Regions from separate parts of the Homo sapiens genome. Here all the other regions are linked to region 1. The links are contacts of gene promoters, found by promoter capture Hi-C in blood cells and fetal thymus (Javierre and others, 2016). All regions are on one chromosome and are shown on one strand. The core of a region is centred on a gene start or on the middle of the fragment in contact, and the rest is flanking DNA. Distances in the headings are between cores, read along the strand shown.

Evidence for each region. The method cuts DNA at HindIII sites, captures the fragments that hold promoters and counts their contacts. A CHiCAGO score of 5 or more calls a contact.
Region 2: a contact is called between a fragment that was not itself captured here and the fragment with the promoter of GPR148 in region 1, in 6 of 17 cell types (non-activated CD4 T cells, naive CD8 T cells, total CD8 T cells and 3 more). The highest score is 10.8, in non-activated CD4 T cells.
Region 3: a contact is called between a fragment that was not itself captured here and the fragment with the promoter of GPR148 in region 1, in 1 of 17 cell types (naive CD8 T cells). The highest score is 7.1, in naive CD8 T cells.
Region 4: a fragment that was not itself captured here is called in contact with the fragment with the promoter of GPR148 in region 1 in 6 of 17 cell types (total CD8 T cells, naive CD8 T cells, naive CD4 T cells and 3 more); the score reaches 9.0 in total CD8 T cells.
Region 5: a contact is called between a fragment that was not itself captured here and the fragment with the promoter of GPR148 in region 1, in 2 of 17 cell types (naive CD4 T cells and non-activated CD4 T cells). The highest score is 5.5, in naive CD4 T cells.
Region 6: a contact is called between a fragment that was not itself captured here and the fragment with the promoter of GPR148 in region 1, in 1 of 17 cell types (total CD4 T cells). The highest score is 8.6, in total CD4 T cells.
Region 7: a contact is called between a fragment that was not itself captured here and the fragment with the promoter of GPR148 in region 1, in 1 of 17 cell types (naive CD8 T cells). The highest score is 5.7, in naive CD8 T cells.

What each region holds. Positions count from the first base shown.
Region 1 is chr2:130,727,556-130,730,890 of GRCh38, reverse strand. GPR148 (G protein-coupled receptor 148) reads right to left here and starts at 1,821. Exons shown (of 1, transcript NM_207364.2): 1 at 555-1,821. The coding sequence starts at 1,739. The coding sequence ends at 696. RefSeq lists enhancers at 2,092-2,670, 2,671-3,250 and a silencer at 3,019-3,188. The HindIII fragment of the contact is 6,760 bases long and covers 1-2,623 here.
Region 2 is chr2:130,332,562-130,335,896 of GRCh38, reverse strand. No RefSeq gene overlaps it. Among named protein-coding and RNA genes, the nearest start is that of TRE-TTC1-1, 3.0 kb to the left of the region's middle. RefSeq lists an enhancer at 2,952-3,335. The HindIII fragment of the contact is 542 bases long and covers 1,222-1,763 here.
Region 3 is chr2:131,107,735-131,111,069 of GRCh38, reverse strand. All of the region lies in intron 1 of PLEKHB2 (pleckstrin homology domain containing B2), which reads right to left. Among named protein-coding and RNA genes, the nearest start is that of PLEKHB2, 4.1 kb to the right of the region's middle. The HindIII fragment of the contact is 424 bases long and covers 1,645-2,068 here.
Region 4 is chr2:130,349,124-130,352,458 of GRCh38, reverse strand. No RefSeq gene overlaps it. Among named protein-coding and RNA genes, the nearest start is that of PTPN18, 5.3 kb to the left of the region's middle. The HindIII fragment of the contact is 553 bases long and covers 1,442-1,994 here.
Region 5 is chr2:131,087,025-131,090,359 of GRCh38, reverse strand. All of the region lies in intron 1 of FAM168B (family with sequence similarity 168 member B), which reads left to right. Among named protein-coding and RNA genes, the nearest start is that of FAM168B, 4.8 kb to the left of the region's middle. The HindIII fragment of the contact is 7,532 bases long and covers 1-3,335 here.
Region 6 is chr2:130,376,722-130,380,056 of GRCh38, reverse strand. No RefSeq gene overlaps it. Among named protein-coding and RNA genes, the nearest start is that of PTPN18, 22 kb to the right of the region's middle. The HindIII fragment of the contact is 355 bases long and covers 1,450-1,804 here.
Region 7 is chr2:131,019,187-131,022,521 of GRCh38, reverse strand. All of the region lies in intron 4 of ARHGEF4 (Rho guanine nucleotide exchange factor 4), which reads right to left. Among named protein-coding and RNA genes, the nearest start is that of SMIM39, 14 kb to the left of the region's middle. The HindIII fragment of the contact is 3,953 bases long and covers 1-3,335 here.

The DNA of each region.
Region 1 (3,335 bases), core at 572-3,071:
AGGTCTTTTTACCACTAACATAATTTGAAGCCTAGCTCTAAAACTGTCTGAAGAGTGGCTTCTACTTAAGAATTCTCGAGGAATTTTCTTCTTCTACACAGCACGAAAGTCAAGGCAGGCAAACTCCCTTGCTGACCCCTTCTGTAAGGTTAGGTTATCATTTACCTTTATTGTGAGAGTGTAACCCTTGCACACTCCAGCTTTATAGTGGTATCTCCATGACACTCTCCACTGCTGTGGATCGTTGGCTTCCTTTCCTCCCTCCCACATCCTGAGCGGCTGCTCAGATAGAGCTCATGGTCCCAGGACTCAGCAGCTCTGCTTGCTTACCTCTGTGGTTCTCACTGTCAGCAACATTTTGGCTTCTGTGTGTTGGTCAGCAAGGATGCATCCACAGTGGCCAGGGAGGGTGTGCAGCAAGCCATTGGAGGGACGCAGATCAAGGCTTGACTTAGACCAGAGCCCTGCTTGATTGCCTTTACTTGCTTCCGTTTCCAAGTAGGATTTCAGTGTCATAAGAGAGCTTTCTCTACTTAAAAACTGTCAAAATGGTGAAAATCATCAGTTGAGGTCTTCTGAAAGGCCCAATTCCACTATTATATTGTGCTGTTCTAAGAAGTTAGTCATAAGTGGACACTGCTGCATTCAACATATGATTTTTAACCTCAGCTTGCCAGACTGTGGACTCAAGAACTCTAGGAAATGGTAAAGATGGCCTGGTGCCTCCTGGATGGGAGGTGGCCCCGGACCATGCCCAACAGCTGCCGGTAGCGGAGCAGGTACAGGTATGTGAGCATGGCACGGGGAAGCATCATGAGTACCTCACTGTTAGCTGCCAGGAGCCATGTGTGAGTCCCAGAGTCAATGTGGTGGTACCTGGTCAGCACCATGTCCAGGGAGAACACCACCCCTGTGCTCACGTACAATGTGATCAGCACTGAGTGGATCAGCAGGGTGCCCCTGGCCCGGGAATAGCCCTGCCCCCAGATGCCTGAAGTCTTGGCCTCTGCATAGATCCTCCAGAAACAGTTGGCAATGAGAGCTGTGCAGAGGAACAGAACGCACAGAATGGAGGTGTAGGTAACAATGACCAGGAGGCCACATCCCGGCTGGGTGCCCATGCTTGGTGGTAGGATGTATGAAGCTCCTTGCTCCTCCAGCTGGGCATCCTGCCACTTGCTGAGCCAAATAAGGAATGTGGGGAAGCAGCAGGCCACCAGCCAGATGAGGGCCACTGCCTTCCAGGCAGCCCCATGGGACATGAAGGAGAGGTAGCGCAGTGGATGGATGACTGCCAGGTAGGTGTGCAGCACAATGGCGGTGAAGGACAGGATGGTGCTGGTGCAGGCGGCGAAGACAGCATCAGTGAGAATGCCACAGGCCATGCGGCCCAGCTCCCAGCCACCCAGGCTGCTGGAGGAGATGAGCATGTGGAGGAGAATGTAGGCCAGGTCTGAGAGCAGGATGTTAGCCGGGAGCAGGTAGTGGGGCTCCTGTCGCAGCCGTTGGTTCCGCAGGATGGTCACCAGCAGCAGGGGGCTGACAGCCAGTGTGGCTGCAGCCAGCAGGCTTGAGGGAAGGAAAAGCCAGTACAGCATGGAGCTGGGCACCCTGAGGTCCCCCAGGCCCAAGGAAGTGTTGCTGGCTGCTTGGGGCATGCAGGGTGTCTTGCTGATGAGCTGGATCAGGGCCGGCCAAGCTGTAGTGCCCACAGGGCAAGGTGCCAGCTCATCCCCCATGCTTCCTGGCAGGGATGGCTGGCTTTGTCACAGGTTGTTGATTCTGCACCTGCCTTGAGTGTTGATCTGCCCCACAGGGGTCCTGATGGCACCACTCCTCTGTAGAGATGCCAGGCTCGGGCAGGCCTTAGGAATGACTGCTTAATAAAGATAAAAAAACCAATGTGAATTCAGACTCACACCTGGCTTCCTGCATTCACATCTCTGCAACTGTGCAGCTGCATGTGCGTGGGTAGACATAACAGATCATCCCACTGCCACCATTTTGCAGTCACTGACCCCTCCAGAAGTGTCCCCTATCTCAGTGGCCCCCAAACCTGTCTGCTTGGCTCACAGGGAGTGTGCAATGGATTCTCACCACACTGGATTATATTCCGGGCTGCCCTCCTAGAAAGGAAGGAGCAGCTGTCTGGAACTAGGATCGCTGGGCTGTAGACCTGGTCTGACCTCTGTCGAGCTAGAGGCTCAGCAAATTGGACCAGGCTGGAGGGGCCTGGGCGCACTCACATTTCCTCACAGAGCCTTGGGTATGGTCTCCAGCTCAGGGTGACCCTGTGCATGCGTGTGAGTGTGACTCCTACACCCCTTCCACTCAGGGCTCCATGTGAGTATTCGGTGCCCCCAAAATCTCAGCTGACTTGTGGGGTCGCTGTGTGGTAGAAACGTCCCTTCCTCTGGGGAGGAGGAGGCCTGGCAGGCAGAGACCTCATAGGAGCTAGTGGGGAGGAATGGAAGGCAGGTTCCCCAGGCACCTGGCTTGTCGGGGGTGGGGTGAGCTCAGTCAGAGCCAGTGGCCAGGGTGGCTGTTGGTGTTTGGGGATCCAGTTCAAGTGAACAAGCTCTCCCGCTCTCTCGAGGTGTTGGCTGCGTGGCCTTGAAAAGCTTTGTTCCAGTTTCCTTATCTGTGAAACACGAATGCCAACCACACTGACCTCAGGGAAACGTTGCGGAAGCCCAGAGGTAAGGGACTCAGCACAGTGCATAGCCTGAAGTAAATGCTGAGTCAATGTTAGCTCTCCCACCTACAGCATCCTCCGAGGCTCGGTCCCCTCTGCCCACAGATCCCTGTCATCACTGCAGAACGGGCTGCACTTGGCTGCTGGCAGCCTGAGACCCCTGCCCAACACCCACCGCCGGCCTGGCAGACTGCTCCAGAAGGCAGGAGCCGCGTGGGAACAGGCAGGATATTTTTAGGGCCAGGAAGAGGCAGAAATTTCAGACTCTGGGTGTGAGACCACGTCCACTGCTGCCCAGGGACCATGCTCGTCACAGCCCGAGACCACGTCCACCGCAGCCCAGGGACCACGCCCAGAACCGCCCCTGACCACGTCCGCCGCAGCCCGGGGACCACGCCCGCCGCAGCCCGGGGCCACGCCCACCACAGCCCCGGACCACCATCATCGCAGCCCTGGGACCACGCCCTCCATAGCCCAAGGCCACGCCCATCACAGCCAAAGACCACGCCCAGAACAGCCCCGGACCACGCCCGCCGCAGCCCGGAACCGCGTCCTCCTCTGAGAGCCTGTTACGCAGCTGCCAGGAGCAGCAGCGCCTGCGCCTTTTTGGCCGATTACGGTACAGAAACTAAAGGTGGTT
Region 2 (3,335 bases), core at 243-2,742, 390 kb after region 1:
GAAAAGATGCTGGGGACATAGCCTTAAGGGGCCCCCACAGTCTCATGGGTTTTAGCTCCAGGAATTCTATCTTGTTCTTGGGTGAAAATCAGAGAAAAATCTGCTGGAGCTTCTGGCAAGGGGAGGAAAGTGTAACCACTTTGAAATGCACACATAACGTCCTGTCCTCTTTAACAAAGGCTTAAAGTCAGAGCAACTACCAGAGCCTACCCAACCCAAGGGAAGGAAAATATCCACCTCCAGTCTGCTTTAGTCTTCCAACTCACATTAAAAAAAAGCTGAGAAGCACTTGTGAGTGGCACAGCCTAGGGACCACTGGTTCACAACAAGACTGGGCCCTGATCATGGGTTTATAGACCACTCCCTGCTGTCCCCACATCTTACTGCCACATCACTTAGGGCTCCTATATATTAACAAGGGATTGCAGCTGAAAGAACTGCAAGGCCCAGAATTTATGTAAGAAGCAGTCTCTAGGGAAACCCAAAGGCAACAGGGGATGCAAAAACAAGGACACTAGAGGAAATTTTAGCCTCTGACATTTACAGCTACAGCAAACAAGAAACACAGCCTCCCTCCTTAGTCAGATAAATATAAAACTTCACACTAAAAGCCTATTTACCTCAGTTCCTCTCACCTTATGCATGTTTGGCTTTCAACAGAAAATTACAAGATGGGAGATAAAACATTTCTGCAGCAGAATGCCTCCATCAGCCAGTTGCCTGCCTGTGGAATTTTGGAAGCCCCATGGCCTTCCTTTATTCCATTCCATCTCTGTCCCTTAGATTCCAGGCTGCCATGTTTCTACTGCTATCAGAATCTCAAAACCTTTGTCTCCTGCATAATTCATGGGGTTTCAGCCAACAGACAAAGGGGCCCTCCACAGATCTTTCCTTGGTAACCCCATCTCTATTTCTGGCTTCTGCTGAGGTGGTGGAGTGGTTCCATGAGTCACATGTCCAATCTCTTTAGCAAAATGTTATCCAGCCACACCCTTGGTCCTCTTTCCAGAGTACACTTTCTAACAGTGAGTTTCCTAATTTTTGTAGTCTTTGTAATCTGGACATCCCGAGAGCCCCTAAATCATTAAGTGCCAGCTCCTTTCTGCTTGACTGTTCTTTGCTCGATGTAACTTTTTCCTCTCACAGTTCCTATTAGCAGCAAGCAGGTTGTACCTTCAACACTTCCCTCAACTAAATATCCAAGCGTTTAATATCCAAGCTTATTATTTATCATGTCTACTTTCCACATAACAACAGAACACAATTTAGTCAAGTTCTCTACCACTTTATAACAAAGATCTCTTTTACTCAGCTGTCAAAGAATATGTTCCTCATTTCTTTCTAAGACCTCACCAGAGGCACCTTTAACATTAGGTTTCTACTAACATTCTGTTCATGACAATATATGTATTCTCTAAGAGCATCAGTCCTCAACCTTTTTGGCACCAGGGACAGGGGCTGGGGGGCTGGGAGGATTATGGGATGGCTTCAGGATGAAGCTGTTCCACCTTAGATCATCAGGCATTAGTTAGATTCTCATAAGGACTGCACAGCTTCGATCCCCAGCATGCACAGTTCCCAATAGGGTTCATGCTCCTATGAGAATCTAATGCCCCGCTGGTATGACAGGAGGCGGAGCTCAGGCGGTAATGCTGGATCACTGGCCGCTCACCTCCTGCTGTGTGGCCTGGTTCCTAACAGCCAGGGACCTGTACCAGTCCTTGGCCTGGGGGTTGGGGACCCCTGCTAAGAGGATAGAAGCTTCTCTACAGCTCTTCTCACTTCCTTCTGAGCTTTCATTAGAGTTACTGTCCACATCTCCATCAACTGTTTCCTTAATGGATTCTAGGCTTTTTCTATCACGTGCCTCAAACTTCTTCCAGCCTCTCCCTGATTCCAAAGCTCCTTCCACGTTTTAGTTATTTGTTACAGAAACATCCTACTTCCTGGCACCAGTGTCTGTATTGGTTTCCTAGGCTGCCACAGTAATTTAACACAAACTTCATAATTTATCCTCTCACAGTTATGAAAGTCAGAAGTCTGGAATCCAGGTGCTGGCAGACCTGTGTGTCCTCTGAAGGCTCTAGGGAAGAACGCTTCTCTGCTTGTCCTAGCTTCTGGTGGTTCTGATTGTCCCTGGCACTCCTTGAGTTGTAGCTACATCGCTCTGATCTCTGGCCCCATCCTTCACGTGGCCTTCTTCTCCATATGTATCCACGTGTCCTCTCCTTCTCCTGCAAGAACAGCAGTCACTGGATATAGAACCTACTCTAAGCTGGGTGTGGTGGCTCACGCCTATAATCCCAGCAATTTGGGAGAGCGAGGCAGGTGGATCACCTGAGGTTGGGAGTTGGAGACCAGCCTGACCAACATGGAGAAACCCCGTCTCTACCGAAAATACAAAATTACCTGGGCATGGTGGCGCATGCCTGTAATCCCAGCTACTTGGGAGGCTAAGGCAGAAGAATCACTTGAACCCAGGAGGCGGAGGTTGCTGTGGGCCGAGAGAGCGCTACTGCACTCTAGCCTGGGCAACAAAAGTGAAACTCCATCTCCAAACAAACAAAACAAAACAAAACAAACAGACAAAAAAAAAAAAAAAAAAAAAAAAACACACACAGAAAAAAGAGCCTACTCTAATCCAGTACAAATCACCTTAACTTAATTACATCTGCAAGATTCTATTCCCAAATTAAATCATCTTCTGAGGTTGTGGGTAGACACGATATTTTTTTTCTTTTTGATGGGGAGACACTGTTCAACCCAAGACAGAGCACGTGGAGGGACAAACTGCAAAAACAGTGGATTCCTATAACAAAGTTTTAAAAATGCTGCCTTGACCCACTTTTGAGGCCCTGGCTAGAGGTCAGTTTCCCTTCTTGGGCACCCGATTAAGTTCATACTTGCAACCACTGGACTCTCTCACTCTGAGCTAATCAAACCCCTCCCCACCCCATAACACGTGCTCTCTCGGGAACTGTGAGTAAAATGTTTCAGCGTCACTCATGTCTTATCTTTTCAATATCAGTCATTTCCTAATCTGAATAATGTTACCTAAATAATAATAAAACCTATTGAAGCAGCGGGCCCAGCAAGCAGGGTGGTTTGGTGGGCTACAATGACGGCCACTAGGCCGCCCTTGCTTACAGACTGGCCCCACCAGGTGGCAGCACCAGTCCGGGGCACAGCTACGTTTTGCCGTCTAACGGGTGTCTGGTGAATCTCATTCCTAAATTGTGAAACTTTGAGTCATCCAGAGTTTCTCCTAAACCAAGGTATCAAGTGCTTCGGGCAGCTCAAATTAATTGGCTACTTCTGGTTGTCAAAAAACTCCA
Region 3 (3,335 bases), core at 607-3,106, 380 kb before region 1:
TCCCACCACTGCATTCCAGCCTGGGCATCACAGCGAGACTCCGTCTCAAAAAAAAAAATTCTGCTTATAGGAGAATTTCATAAATAAACCACAGAGAAAAGAGCAGAGAAATAATACTATAAAACCATTTCCTGCAACAGGATAACACATTTCTAGATTCAAAAGATCCAATGACTGTCCAGCATGATGAATTTTAAAAGATTCTCCATAGGTAGGATGACTGAAATTTCATAACATCAAGGACAAAGAAGAGAACCTAAAAACTTCCCAAAGAAAAAAGCATATATAAAGGATCAACAATCAGCAAGACACAGGACATCTAGAGCAATACCTTCAAAATGCTAACGGAAAATTATTTCCAAGCCAGAATTCCACACCCAGTCAAATCATTAATCAAGGCCAGGCATGGTGGCTCTTGAGCATAATCCCAACACTTTGGGAAGCCAAGGTGGGAGAATCGCTTCAGCCCAGGAGTTTGAGACCAACCCAGCAACACAGTGAGACATTCTCAACAAAAAAATAAGAAGTTAGCTGCACATAGTGGTGCACGCCTGTAGTCCCACCTACTCGGGAGACTGAGGTAGGAAGATCGCTTGAGCCCAGAAGGTAGAAGCACAGTAAGCCATGAATGATCATGTCACTGCACTCCAGCCTGGGCGACAGAGTAGGATTCGGTCTTCAACTGGCAGGGGAGGAAATTCCCAGAAAGGCAGCTGTGCAGAAGGACTGGGGAGGAAAAAAAAAAAAAAAAACAGTCCAGACTGGAGCAGGACCGAGTACTACAGGGGAGGAAAAAAAGTAACTGACAAATTTCCTACAAGTTTTTGACTCACTGGTGGATTGAAGAGTTTTACAAGGCAGCAAAAGTCTTCTATGATCAAAAGTCAAAAGATTACATGTAAATCAATAGCAATTTTACCATATCCACAAAGATAAAATACTATTTTTTTTTTTTGAGACGGAGTCTCACTCTGTCACCCAGGCTGGAGGGCAGTGGCGCGATCTCAGCTCTCTGCAACCTCCACCTCCCAGGTTCATGCCATTCTCCTGCCTCAGCCTCCCGAATAGCTGGGACTACAGGCAACCGCCACCACACCCAGGTAATTTTTTTGTATTTTTAGTAGAGACAGGGTTTCACCGTGTCAGCCAGGATGGTCTCGATCTCCTGACCTCATGATCCACTTGCCTTGGCATCCCAAAGTGCTGGAATTACAGGTGTGAGCCACCACACCCAGCCAAAATACTATTTTAAAAAGTGCCAAAAAAAGGTGAAAATAGTTGTCTATAGTTTAAAAAGGGGGTGGACAAGAGATTGATATATTTTTTTTTATTCTAAGGTTTAAAGCACTATTTGGTTGTTTTTTTTGTTTGTTTGTTTTGAGACAGAGTTTCGCTCTTGTTGCCCAGGCTGGAGTATAGTGGCGCGATCTTGGCTCACTGCACCCATCGCCTTCCAGGTTCAAGCGATTCTCCTGCCTCAGCCTCCCAAGTAGCTGGGATTACAGGCGCCCACCACCACGCACAGCTGATTTTTGTACTTTTAGTACAGACGGGATTTTACCACGTTGGTCAGGCTGGTCTCAAACTCCTGACCTCAGGGGATCCACCCGCCTCAGCCTCCAAAAGTGCTGGCCTCCAAAAGCTTGAGCCACCACGCTCAGCCTATTTGGTCTTTCAATCTATGTACATGTATTATTTTGATAAATGTAAACATGTAAACAATAACCTGAATTATCTTCAACTATACCAAAACAAAAAAACCAACCTAAATTAATCTACCTATTTGAACCTTCCAACAGTGCTCTGCTTTCGTTTTTAAATTGGGGAGAGAAATTTAGAGAGTATCTTTAGAAACCAAAAATCATGAAGTATGATTTTGATCACATTTTGTTTTGTTTTTGTAGAGACGAGGTTTCACTATGTTGCCCAAGCTGGTCTCGAACTCCTGGGCTCAAGGGATTCTTCCATCTCAGCCTCCCAAAGTTCTGGGATTACAGGTATGAGCCACTGCAGTCAGCCTATCATATGCTTTTGAAATTTCACAGAACCCAGTGTTTGGGTATAAGCTTTAGAGTTAAAAGACCTATGTTCAGATCCTGACTCAATCGGACAAGTCACGTTTCCAAGCCTGATCTATAAAACGAAAATTCCCACCACCTACTTGACAGGATGTTCGGAAAATTGGGTGAAATAATATGTAAGTAGTTGGCATGGTGCCTCACAGTTACTAGAACTCGATAAATGGTAGCTGCTTTGACAGCAATTATTACTATTTACTACTATTATTACTATTACTTATTTTCCCCCTTACCAAAATTTGCCGAAAATATTCTAGAACAAGCTTGTCCAACTCATGGCCCCAGCCCAGGTCAGCTTTGAATGCAGCCCAACACAAATTTGTAAACTTTCTTAAAACGTTATGAGATTTTTTTGCAATTTTATTTTTTAGTGCATCAGCTATCATTAGGGTTAGTGTATTTTATGTATGGCCTTCTTCCAATGTGGCCCAAGAAAGTCTAAAGATTGGACAGCCCTGTTCTAAGAACAAGGACATCAAGCTGCTTCTCAAATGGCTCAGAAGACTTCTGTTTGATTGCCTTAGCATGCTGAATTTCACACCACTCCATAACTTAATTCAACATTTCACTATTTATATCCTGGAGCAAAACTGAATGCATAAACTAAAACTCATCAGATAAACACTAAGCCCTAGCTGTTGGTCTCTAGAGAATAAAACACCAGCAAACTAGCTGCAAAAGAACATTATTTTTATGCCAATAAAACCTATGCAAAGCTTTAAAATGTAAGCCATATTCAACAATTTAAATTATTTTAAATTTGAATTTGTATCTCTTTGAAAGCATTGAATCGAAACAGACAACAGATGGACAAAAAATACTGCCTTTGGAATCTGACAGTTCTAAGCCTGAAGCCTACTTTGCCTTCTACTCACTAGTATGACCTTCAGCAAAATTCTAAACCTCTCTAAGCCTCAGTTTTCTTACCTGTATGACCAGGCACAACCAATTACGTCATGGGGTTACTGTGACAATTAAAGGAGGTATGTCCAAACAGCCCTGTAGTAGATGGTCCAAAAGTGAGAATTGGCCAGGCGCGTTGGCTCACGCCTATAATCCCAACACTTTGGGAGGCCAAGGCAGGCGGATCACCTGAGGTCAGGAGTTCGAGACCAGCCTGACCAACATAGTGAAACCCCATCTCTATTAAAAATACAAAAAATTAGCCGAGCATGGTGGCGCACGCCTGTAATCCCAGCTATTTGGGGGGCAGAGGCAGGGGACTCCCTTGAACCCGGGAAGCGGAGGTTGCAGTGA
Region 4 (3,335 bases), core at 469-2,968, 380 kb after region 1:
GTGCAAGAGGAAGCATGTGGCTGTGTCCCCCTCCCGTCCGATGCCTGAGAGCTCTAAGTCCTCTGGGAGAGCTTTTGTTCCTGTCTCCTCTAACTCTCCTCAGGCGTGCCAGGTTTCAGTGTTCTGAATCAAAGACTCCTCCTGATCGCTCCATGGGAAAGGGTCAGCAGCTCAGCGCGGTGGAAAGAGAAAGCCAAAGAGAAAGAGGCCAAAGAGAAAGCCACCCTACCCCTTCTCAGCGCTACCACCAAACCCCACAACCCCCAGCTCTTTGTGGAGGCTGACCTGCTGCCCTCGGGAGCTGTCCTGCAATTCTGCTTCAGAAAGGAGGGGAAACCACTAGGAATAGAGGGGAAAGCCCTCTTCCCCATCTTTAAAATGCTCATACCAACTTTTCCCCCACTACTCCAGGGCAGAGCCTGGGCATCTGCATGGCCCAGAGCAGGCCCCCGATGTGCCCCTGGAGGAAATAAACTCGGGCAGACAAGTGCTCTAACAGCAACGCTGGCAGCACTCTGGGACTTCCATGACTGACAGGCCGGGTCAGGCTGCTGCCTCCTCAGCCTGCAGTTTCTACACCTGATGCTAGCCCAGCTTCAGCATACTTCCTCTGTATGCGGTGCTTTATTTAGAAAAGACCAACTGGCCATGTTATTGTCAGCAAATGCCGGCCAGGGTCCTGCACAGATGAGGGCCGTGTCTGTGGGCCCTGATTGCACAGCCCATGTGTCATGGCTGAGTGCAGTTCCCAGGACAACCAAAGGGATGCATGGATCCGTGTGCATTGCTGTCTGCCCATCAATTATAACACCAGAGAGAAATGAGTGTGCATCCATGCTTGGGTGAGTGTAAACACCTCTGGAAGGATTCCTATAATGAGGGGGCACCCTCACTGCTGCTGCTGACCAGGGTGTTCTGAAGTCCTAGGCAATGCAGGGTGGCAAGGAGAAAGGAGGGAGGGGCCCATCAGAAATGCTAACTGGCATATAGCATAATCAGCTACAAAGTTTTAGAAACTCTTATGAAAAACTGTAAGGACTTATGAGAAAATTTAATAAGGTAGCTAGTTAAAATACACTAACTAGGCCAGGCGTGGTGGCTCATGCCTGTAATCCTAGTACTTTGGGAAGCCGAGGTGGGTGGATCACGAGGTCAGGAGATCGAGACCATCCTGGCTAACATGGTGAAACCTCATCTCTACTAAAAATACAAAAAATTAGCCAGGCATGGTGGCGGGCGCCTGTAGTCCCAGCTACTTGGGAGGCGGAGGCAGGAGAATCGCTTGAACCCCGGAGGCGGAGTGAGCAGCGATTGCGCCACTGCACTCCAGCCTGGGCAACAGAACGAGACTCCATCTCAAAAAAAAAAAAAAAAGAAAAAAACTACACTAAGTACTTACACACACCAGTTTAATGAATTTGAAACTGTAATGCAAAAAGCTTCCATATTAATTTCTTGAGAAATAGGCACCAAGTTTGAACCCCTAATAAATTAATGGAGCTATGCAATAATACTGCCTACTGACATCACAAAAACGACTCCCAGGCAGGCACTGAGATTCCTAATGAAAGAACATAACACCCTCATCAAGTATTACTGCTAAAAAAATTTGCAGGTATATCTGATTGAGCCTCTAGATCTCAATATTAATTCAGAGAAAACACAACGGCAGACAAAAATGTTAAATGACACCACAGTGTTAAGATCAGCAACATCCAGACGGTGAAAGGTCTATTAAGACAAACCAGTTTCCTAACTGAGTAAACTGCAAAGAAACAGACAATCTTATAGAGAGACTCAAGACTTAACACACAAATGCTCATAGCAGCATTGTTCACAATGGCCCAAATGTGGCAAACAACCTAAATTTCATCAACTGATGGATCAAATGTGGCATATAATAATACCCCATGTATAGGGACATACATGGAATATTATTTGGCAATGAAAAGAAATGAAGTGCTGACATAAATAAATTACACTGTGAATAAGCTTAGAAAACATTATGCTAAGTGGAAGAAGCCAGTCAGAAAAGACGTATTATTCCATTTACATGAAATGTTCAGAAACAGCAAATCTATAGAGACCAAAAGTATTAATTAAAAAAAAAAAATCCTGTTCTAAGGCTGGGCACAGTGGCTCACGCCTGTAATCTCAGCACTTTGGGAGGCCGAGGTGGGCAGATCATGAGGTCAGGAGATCGAGACCATCCTGGCTAACACGGTGAAACCCCGTCTCTACTAAAAATACAAAAAATGAGCCAGGTGTGGTGGCAGGCACCTGTAGTCCCAGCTACTCGGGAGGCTGAGGCAGGAGAATGGCGTGAACCCGGGAGGCGGAGCTTGCAGTGAGCCGAGGTTGCACCACTGCACTCCAGCCTGGGCGACAGAGCGAGACTCCGTCTCAAAAATAAAATAAAATAAAATAAATAAATAAATCCTGTTCTAATGTCTCAGCAGAGTCTGGCCAAAAGTAGACTAGTGGTTGCCAGAGGGGCTGGGGCCTGGTGGGAGGGAGGGGATTAGAGTGACAGCTAATGCGTATGGGGTTTCTCTCCGGGGCAGTGGGGGCAGAGGGGGACAAAAAATGTTCCAAAATTAGATTGTGGTGATGGTTACACAGCCCTATGAATATGATTTTTAAAAAATCATTGATGCACAGGGACGGGCGCACAAGGCTGTGAGTTCAACCTGCGCTGTGAATTGTGTAATATGTTGACTATCGCAATAAAGCTGTTTTTAAAAGACTTGTCAATTATTTGCAATGAATGGACCTGATGTCGATCTTAGTCGAAACAAGCACACTCTAATCAAGGCAAGCTGAACATTAAGTGGATATCTGATGATATAAAGGAATGATCATTGATAATTTTATGTGTAATAATTTTTTTGTTGTTGTTGAGTCCTTATCTTTTAGAGATATACATGGAAATACATATGGATGAAATGCTCTGATGTCTGAGATCTACTTTAAAAACTGGTGGAGTGGATACAGGGAGTGGGTGAGCTATGAAGACTGGCTCACATCAAAACCGGCTCAGCGACTCACTATACCATCTTCTCTGCTCTTGTATGTTTCAAATTTTCCACAACTAACAAGATTTAAAACAATCAATCTAGAGGTGAACAAATGCATCTATAAGGAGAGCAGACCCATCACAGAAAATACATAACACACAAGGCCAGTAAGTATTTGAAAAGAGGCACAACCTCCAGAGTAACTAAAGAAATGCAAATGCAATTGGGGAAACATTTTGCACCTAGTGCGTGACAGAGGTTAAAACCTCTGATGATGCCCAGGGCTCACCTGGGGAGCAGGTGCTCACATCTTGTGAT
Region 5 (3,335 bases), core at 347-2,846, 360 kb before region 1:
TAGTGATAGGTCTTTCTTTCTTTTTTTTTTTTTTTTTTTTGAGACAAGAGTCTCGCTTTGTCGCCCAGGCTGGAGTGCAGTGGCACGGTCTGGGCTCATTGCAAGCTCAGCCTCCTGGGTTCACGCCATTCTCCAGCCTCAGCCTCCTGAGTAGCTGGGTACAGGCGCCTGCCACCGTGCCTGGATAATTTTTTTTTTTTTTTTTTTTGTATTTTTGGTAGAGACGGGGTTTCACTGTGGTCTCGATCTCCTGACCTCGTGATCCGCCCTCGTCGGCCTCCCGAAGTGCTGGGATTACAGGCGTGAGCCACTGCGCCGGCCTCTTTTTTTGAGATGGAGCGTCCATGTCGCCCAGGCTGGAGTGCAGTGGTATGATCTCGGCTCACTGAAACCTCTGCCTCCTGGGTTCAAGTGATTCTCCTGCCTCGGCCTCCCAAGTAGCTGGGACTACAGGTGTGCACCACCACCGCTGGCTAATTTTTGTATTTTTAGTAGAGACGGGGTTTCACCATGTTGGCCAGGCTGGTCTGGAATTCCTGACCTCGTGATCTGCCCACCTTGGCCTCCCAAAGTGCTGGGATTACAGGCGTGAGCCACCATGCCCAGCCAGGTCTTTCTTTTTTCTTTCTTTTTTTTTTTTTTGAGATGGAGTCTCGCTCTGTTGCCCAGACTGGAGTGCAGTGGCGCCATCTCGGCTCATTGCAAGCTCCGCCTTCCGGGTTCACACCATTCTCCTGCCTCAGCCTCCCCAAGTAGTTGTGAGTGGCTAATTTTCTTTTTGTATTTTTTTTTAGTAGAGACAGGTTTCACCGTGTTAGCCAGGATGGTCTCGATCTCCTGACCTTGTGATCCACCCGCCTTGGCCTCCCAAAGTGCTGGGATTACAGGCGTGAGCCACTGCGCCTGGCCAGGTCTTTCATTTTAAAGATAGAGTTTTCTTCTGATTATGATTTGATTTTCAAGTTAGGAATTTTTGCTGTCATCTTTTTAAAGGTAATCTGACATTTGTCTATTCTAATGCAGGTGTCAAACCACCCATAAGAATTCTGACAGTTGAGTCATTTCAAATGGGAAACTAAAAATGTGGTAAGCTCGGCCCGGTGCAGTGGCTCACGCCTGTAATCCCAGCACTTTGGGAGGCCAAGACTGGCGGATCACCTGAGGTCGGAAGTTCGAGACCAACCTGACCAACGTGGAGAAACCCCGTCTCTACTAAAAATACAAAATTAGCTGGGTGTGGTGGCACATGCCTGTAATCCCAGCTACTCAGGAGGCTGAGACAGGAGAATCGCTTGAACCTGGGAGTCAGAAGTTGCGGTGAGCTGAGATCGCGCCATTGCACTCCAGCCTGGGCAACAAAAGTGAAAACTCTGTCTCAAAAAAAAAAAAAAAAAGTGGTACGCTCTAGATCCAGCCTTGGGTTTGGGTTTCTTAGTCCACAGCAAATTAGACTGGAAAGTTGGTGGTTGCAGGGAGATTTTAGTAGCACTAACATTTCAGGTAGATTGGTGATGGTGTGTTTTTTCTTTAGTTTTGCATTATGCAGAATTGAAAATGCGGCAGTACAGTGCATAACCTTATATGCAACATCTTGATGTAAAGATTATTAGCATTTACATAATTTCTACTTGATGTAGAGATTATTTGCTCTTTTTGTAGAAATATTTTAAAGTATAGATGTATCATTTTCGACTTTATATACTTTATTGTATCTTTACAAATTTATGTAACTATACATAATCACAGTACTGTTACCAGGATTAAACATAATTGTTTCATACCAGCTGATACCCAGTATTCAGTCGTGTCCCAGATATCTTTAAACTCTGTTTACAGTTGTTTCAGTCTAAATCGAGTCCAAACAAAATTCAGCTATTGCTTTTATGTCTATATCTATTTTAATTTAGAATTATCTGGCCTTCCTCCTCTCCCGCCCCCTTTTCCCCCCACCATTGCCTTATTGAAGAAACTGGGTCATTTGTCCTCTGGAATGTCCCACTTTTGGGGTTTGTCTGATTGTTTCATGGTGTCATTCAGCATATTCCCTCCTACTCCTGCGTTTCTTGTAAACTGGAAGTTAGATGTAAAGGCTCCATTTGATTTTTTTTTCCCCCCAGACAGAGTCTTGCTCTGTTGCCCCATCTGGAGTGCAGTGGTGCGATTTCAGCTCACTGCAGCCTCTACCTCCCAGGTTGAAGCGGTTCTCATGCCTTAGCCTCCCGAGTAGCTGGGATTACAGGTGTGTGCCACCACGCCCAGCTAATTTTTGTATTTTTAGCAGAGACTGGGTTTCACCATGTTGCCCAGGCTGGTCTCGAACGCGTGGTCTCAAGTGATCCGCCCTCATCGGCCTCCCAAAGTGCTGGGATTACAGGGATGAGCCACTGCAACCAGCCAAGTAGAGTTTTATTATTATTGGTCTAGGCTATAAGTCAGGTCATTATGGAAGGAGAGCCTCCTAACATCCTTCAGTACTTCATTTGAATTTGCAGTTTTTGGCTGTTAGGAATAATGCTGTTACAAATGTTCATGTCCAACTGTAGGTGTAGCATGTGTTTTCACTTCTCTTGGGTATGTACCTAGGAGTGGAATTGTGGGGTCATGTGGTAACTCTGTTTACCTCAGAGTTGCTCAGGAGCTTCTTTGCCTACCAGAGGACATCTCCACTCAGGCCTGTATTTAAGGGTCTCCACTTGGTGGTTGTACCTAAGCTGTGTCTCCACAATCATCTATTACTGATTCCCTACATAGAGCCTAAGCTCCAAACAAACTCAGTTGCTTAATGTTCTTAAAATGCATCTTGCTTGTTCTCATTTCTGAGGCTGATTTGATCCTATCCATTGTTTATTGGAAATGCTGCCCTTTAATTATTATTATTACTATTTTTTGAGACGGAGTCTTGCTCTGTTGCCCAGGCTGGAGTGCAGTGGCACGATCTCAGCTCACTGCAACCTCTGCCTCCCAGATTCAAGTGATTCTCCTGCGTCAGCCTCCTGTGTAGCTGGGATTACAGGTGCCTGCCAACACACCTGGCTAATTTTTGTTGTATTTTTAGTAGAGATGGGGTTTCACCATGTTGGCTAGGCTGGTCTCCAACTCCTGACCTCAAGTGATCCTCCCACCTTGGCCTCCAAAAGTACTGGGATTACAGGCATGAGCCGCTGTGCCTGGCCTAACGCTGCCCTTTAATCAAGTTTTTCCTATTTCTTCCCTCCTCCACAGAATTTTTGCTCTCCCCTCTCAGCCCTCAGAACACTTTATTCTCTTGTGACTCTTTTTTTTTTTTTTTTTTTTTTGAGACGGAGTCTCGCTGTCGCCCAGGCTGGAGTGCAGTG
Region 6 (3,335 bases), core at 378-2,877, 350 kb after region 1:
AAAGAACAGACACTGCAAGAAGCACTCTATCTTGTTATAAATTTCACCTGCCAAGAACTCCCTGCTTTGACCTGCTTGCCTGCAGGTCATTGGCCCTGAGCAGGTAGTCAATGTTCTTTTACCACTTTGTAGTCGCACCTCCATTTCTGTTGCCCTTATCCTTCTTCACATCCACTGGTAACTGTCTCCTGACTGAGTTCCTCACCACCACTACCTGCATCCTCTCCCCTTTCCCTCATCTAGGAAACATGGTGCTTTCTAGTTCTAACATATCATGATTTTCTGTCTCTCACCTACCCAAAACACCATGTCCTCAATTCCACATTAAAGCTAGAACTAGCTATTCATCTTAGAACCACAGAACTCAGCTATCTAGAAGAAAACAGTGTTGTGCGTCTCTCTTCAAAACTACATATATCAAGAAGCTTCAGATTTGGGGAAAACATAAAAATAGCTGATGTTGGAAAGAGTAGGGGTGGGGCATTGGGGAGGAGAAAGAAGGAGCCAAAAATTGGTAGGAGATGGCCATGAAGCATATTCTGTCTTCCAGCAAATGGTGAAGCCATTCTAGAAATACACTAATTACTCCACTCAGTCCTGGGGAGTCTAAATTTCTTTGTAATACATCTCCAACTAGAGGCATTTATCAGACATAAAATCCCCTAGACATCTAACTTGCCTTTCCAGGAAAAAAAAAAAGACAAATATAATTTAACAATAAACTTGTGTAGGAAGACAGACACTAATGGTGAGAGCTGCACATAGTTGGTGTTAATGGTAAATTTCTTGAAGTCTGATTATTCTAGTGTAATCAAAATCCTCCTCAATTCAAATAGCTCTTAGGCTCTCTTGACCCATCACTAGACTGCCTGAAAAGCAGGAAAGTTCAGTCACTTAGAGAACACATCTTAGGCACACTATTCTGTTGCTGGCACATGGGACACATGAGCTGATGAATTGAGTGTGCCTATGGGGTCAGGTTTGTCTAAGCAAAATCAAACGAACAAAGGCCTCTGAATGAGTAGTTGCCAGCGGCCTATGCAGCGACTACTTCCTCCCCACTCACTCAGCAACTTGGGCCACATTTCTGTATTGCAGGGTTGGAATGGACTTTGTTCAGCCTCAGTGAGGAAGGGACCAAACACATTTGTCCCAGGTTCAAGGAGATCATGAGATTCTCCCATTTTCCAAATGTCAACACTGGGGATGGTGTGTATACAGTAGGCACATTTCTGGGGAAGTCGGCTATCTCACCAAAATATTGCAAGTAATTGTTGATATTCTGGATGCTGACTGCTTAGAGGCATCTGCTGTACATATGACAATGCAAATTTGAAACATTGGCTGGCAGTGGCAGAGCTACTGATCCCAAACCCTGGTGGGGCTCTTTGACTGGTTTGAAGGTCAGGGTGGAGAAAGTTCAACTTTAGAGCTCTTTCCCACCAAGCTTTTCTTTTCTTATTAAATTCAAAAAATGTTTATTGATCAACAACTCAGTGCTAAACCTATGGGAGAACCCAAAGACTTAAAAACCTGGGGTCCTGCTCGCCAAGACATGTTAAATGAGATAATATAAAAATTCCCATTTCTGGTACCTGAAAAAGGCTTGGGGCTGGAGAGGTGACATCGTTCAGCTTGCTGACCTCATCAATCATCTGTCCCCAGACAGGCAGACAGATCTGTTGGAGAAGTCATCCTCAAAAGTAAGGCTGCAGAGCCAGGGTCTGTTTGAGAGCAATGGAATCCAATGGAAATCACTTCTCAAGTACACTTTATGTTTGGACATTTCTCAGCTCTTAAAGCTTCTGACATTGATTGGATGCTGGTATGGCTTTATAAACACTTGTCTTTTTCATACACTCTTAAGGATTCATGTCTCCTCGACCATTTTGTATATTCTAAAATAACTATGCCATAAAATAAATGAAACAATTCCCACTTACTGCATAGTTTATTCAGATATTGACCTTATGTTTGGGCTGAACTTAGCTATAATTGAACAAAGAGTGATAAGCCATCGTTGCTTAGTGATATTTTCTATCACCTTCGCTGAGGCTGCAGTTGGCATTCTGCAGGCTCTTTCCAACAAGACCATTTCTCTGGTACACAACTGAGCAATTACACTGACTGAGCTGAAATCCACAAGCATTTGCGGAGCACTGCTCTGTGCAGGGGAAGCTCCAAACACCTAGGTGGCAAAGAGGAGCAAGACCCATCCCTGACCCATAGAACCTGCCTGTAGCCCCCGGATCCTGCCGGCCCAGGGCAGGGGTGTGATGAAGTGGACACCAAGTGCTCTGAGGAGCAGTGTGAGGGAAGAGAAATTCTGGAGAGGGAGAAGGCCCCACATCCCCAGGGCAGGTGAGATGTGAGCTGGGTCTCCCGGGATGAAGGAGACTGGGCCGAAGGAGAGGGTAGGGAGGAGCACTCCAGTAAGGCAGTGAAGTTTGGTGGAGCACTGACCGGGTGGGAGGCAGGAGAGGAGGTGGGAGTAGGGCCTGGAGGGTAAGGTTACCAGGGGCTGAGAAGCCATTAGACTCTCAGCAGCAGCCCTGAGCTCTTGAGCCTGCCCTTTGTTTTTTATCAAGCCCCCCCCCCCACCATGTTAGTATCAGGGAAGCTCAGGGGATCCCTATTGCAAGTGGCAATTCCTCACCCTCCCCTTCTGCTTCATGAGGTCAGATATCAGCTGCCCAATATCCAGCAGCAACTTTTAATACCATGTTTTGTTTCTGAAGGTAGCAAGGACATGTAAGCTTGGGAGTATGTGAAAAAAGCACTGAATCGAGAGTTAGGAAACAGAAACAAAGTTTTCATCAATTATGTAAAGCAGCTCTCTGCCCCTGAGATTGGAAACCAACCTAACCACAAATGGGGCCTAGTTTTCTCTCAGGACGTCACGGTCTAAGACAAACAAATGCCATACAAAGGAGAGAAGTCAAGGCAGGGGATGTTGAAAGCAGAAAAGGAGAAGTAACTAACTCCTGTGAAAAGGAGGCATCATCAGATCCGATCCTACTTGGAAACTGACAGCTGAGCCTTCACTGTTCCTACTGGGTCAGAAACAAAGCAACACGAGTATGGTGCCTGCAACGGTCCCATTGACCCCCACATCCCATGGGGGTTTGTGAGAGCCCAGACAGATGCTGTGCACCCAGTGGGCTGCACTGCAGAAGAGGAGCCCTGAGCTCAGGGCATATCCAGAAGGAAACATCACCTGCTGCAGTGTCCTATTGCAAACACAGCTCTGAGATGCCCAGTTCAGGAGCGGCCAGGCCTTGCATTCCTGGATACCCAGTGTGTGAGTTTCCTGTGGCTGCCATAACAAATGACTA
Region 7 (3,335 bases), core at 609-3,108, 290 kb before region 1:
AGTTTTGATGAGCAAAGTAAGACATGACTACCTATTTTACAGAAATAAAAATGATTATGAGAATACCATGAACTGTTGTACAATAGCAAATTAAATAAACTAGATGAAATGGAAAATTTCTAGAAACACATAATCTACCAAAACTGACTCAAGAAGAAATAGGAAATCAGAATAGATCTATAATTGGTAGGGAAATTGAAGAGTAATAAAAAAAACTTCCAATAAAGAAAAGCCCAGGGCCAGATGGCTTCTACCATCTGGTAGTGAATTCTACCAAATATTTAAAGTATAATCAACACCAATTCTTCTCAAATTCTTCCAAAAATATTGAAGAGGAAGGAATACTTCCCAACTCATTCTATAACATCACTATTGCTTTGATAATAAACCCAGACAAAGAAACTACAAGAAGACTACAGACTAATATCCCTTATGAATATAGATGCAAAAATCCTCAACAAAATACTAGGAAATGGAATTCAGCAGCATATTGAAAGGATTATATATCAGGACCAAATGGAATTTATTTCTGGAATACAAGGAGGGGTCAACATAGGAGAGCAAATCAATATAATACACTAAATTAACAGAATGAAGGAAAAATACATGATTATCTCAATCTATGCAGAAAAAGCATTGACCAAGTTTTTACGATAAAACATTCAATAAACTAGAAATAGAAGGAAAAGTCCTCAATGTGATAAAGGCCACATATGAAAATCTCACAGCCAACATCATACTCAGCGATGGAAGACGGAAAGCTGTATCACTAAGATGAGGAACGAGACAAGGATGCCTGCTTTCTCCACTTCTATTCAACATAGTACTGTAAGTCCTGGTGAGACCAGTCAAGAAAAAGAAATAAAGAAGCTCTTTAGTTTAATTAGATCCCATTTGTCAATTTTGGCTTTTGTTGCCATTGCTTTTGGTGTTTTAGTCATGAAGTCCTTGCCCATGCCTATGTCCTGAATGGTAATGCCTAGGTTTTCTTCTAGGGTTTTTATGGTTTTAAGTCTAACATTTAAGTCTTTAATCCATCTTGAATTAATTTTTGTATAAGGTGTAAGGAAGGGATCCAGTTTCAGCTTTCTACATATGGCTAGCCAGTTTTCCCAGCACCATTTATTAAATGGGGAATCCTTTCCCCATTTCTTGTTTTTGTCAGGTTTGTCAAAGATCAGATAGTTGTAGATATGGGGCATTATTTCTGAGGGCTCTGTTCTGTTCCATTGGTCTATATCTCTGTTTTGGTACCAATACCATGCTGTTTTGGTTACTGTAGCCTTGTAGTATAGTTTGAAGTCAGGTAGCATGATGCCTCCTGCTTTGTTCTTTTGGCTTAGGATTCTGCACAGCAAAAGAAACTACCATCAGAGTGAACAGGCAACCTACAGAATGGGAGAACATTTTTGCAACCTACTTATCTGACAAAGGGCTAATATCCAGAATCTACAATGAACTCAAACAAATTTACAAGAAAAAAAACAACCCCATCAAAAAGTGGGCAGAGGATATGAACAGACACTTCTCAAACGAAGACATTTATGCAGCCAAAAGACACATGAAAAAATGCTCATCATCACTGGCCATCAGAGAAATGCAAATCAAAACAATGAGATACCATCTCACACCAGTTAGAATGGCGATCATTAAAAAGTCAGGAAACAACAGGTGCTGGAGAGGATGTGGAGAAATAGGAACACTTTTACACTGTTGGTGGGACTGTAAACTAGTTTAACCATTGTGGAAGTCAGTGTGGCGATTCCTCAGGGATCTAGAACTAGAAATACCATTTGACCCAGCCATCCCATTACTGGGTATATACTCAAAGGATTATAAAACATGCTGCTATAAAGACACATGCACAGGTAAGTTTATTGCAGCACTATTCACAATAGCAAAGACTTGGAACCAACCCAAATGTCCAACAACGACAGACTGGATTAAGAAAATGTGGCACATATACACCATGAAATACTATGCATCCATAAAAAAGGATGAGTTCATGTCCTTTGTAAAGGGACATGGATGAAGCTGGAAACCATCATTCTCAGCAAACTATCGCAAGGACAAAAAACCGAACACCGCATATTCTCACTCATAGGTGGGAATTGAACAATGAGAACACATGGACACAGGAAGGGGAACATCACACACTGGGGCCTGTTGTGGGGTGGGGGGAGGGGGGAGGGATAGCATTAGGAGATATACCTAATGTTAAATGAAGAGTTAATGGGTGCAGCACACCAACATGGCACATGTATACATATGTAACAAACCTGCACATTGTGCACATGTACCCTAAAACTTAAAGTATAATAAATAAAATAAAATAAAGAAAAAGAATAAAGGACATCCACATTGAAAAGGAAAAATAAAATTATCTGTTTGCAGATGACATCTTCTTACATGTAGCATACCTTAAAGAATCCACAATAAAATTATTAAAGCTACTAAAATTCAGCAAGGCTACAGAATATAAATTAACACACAAAAATCAGTTTTATTTCTGTATATTTGCAATGAGTAATCTGAAAAGGAAACTTTTGAAAATTTCATTACAATAGCATTAAAAAGAATAAAATACTGGCCAGGCATGGTGGCTCACGCCTGTAATCCCAGCACTTTGGGAGGCCGAGGCGGGCGGATCACGAGGTCAGGAAATCGAGACCATCCTGGCTAACACAGTGAAACCCCGTCTTTACTAAAAATACAAAAAAATTAGCCGGCCGTGGTGGCAGGCGCCTGTAGTCCCAGCTATTCAGGAGGCTGAGGCAGGAGAATGGCATGAACCCGGGAGGCGGAGCTTGCAGTGAGCCGAGATCGCGCCACTGCACTCCAGCCTGGGCGACAGAGCGAGACTCCATCTCAAAAAAACAAAAACAAAAACAAAAACCAAAGAATAAAATACTTAGGAATAAACTTAACCAAGGAGGCCAAAGATGTGTAGAATAAAAGCTACAAAACATTGCTGGAAAAAAAAAAAAGCAAAGAAAGACGTCCCATGTTCATAAATTGAAAGTCTTAATATATTTAAGATGACAATACCACCTAAAGCAATCTGTGTATTCAATGCATTCCTATAAAAATCCAATGACTTTTTTTTTTTGAGACAGAGTTTCACTCTTGTTGCCCAGGCTGCAGTGCAATGGCACGATCTCAGCTCACGGCAACCTCCGCCTCCCGGGTTCAAGCGATTCTCATGCCTCAGCCTCCCAGGTAGCTGGGATTACAGGCATGTGACACCACACCGAGATAATCTTGTATTTTTAGTATAGACAGGGTTTCTCCATGTTGGTCAGGCTGGTCTCGAACTCCCAACCTCAGGTGATCCA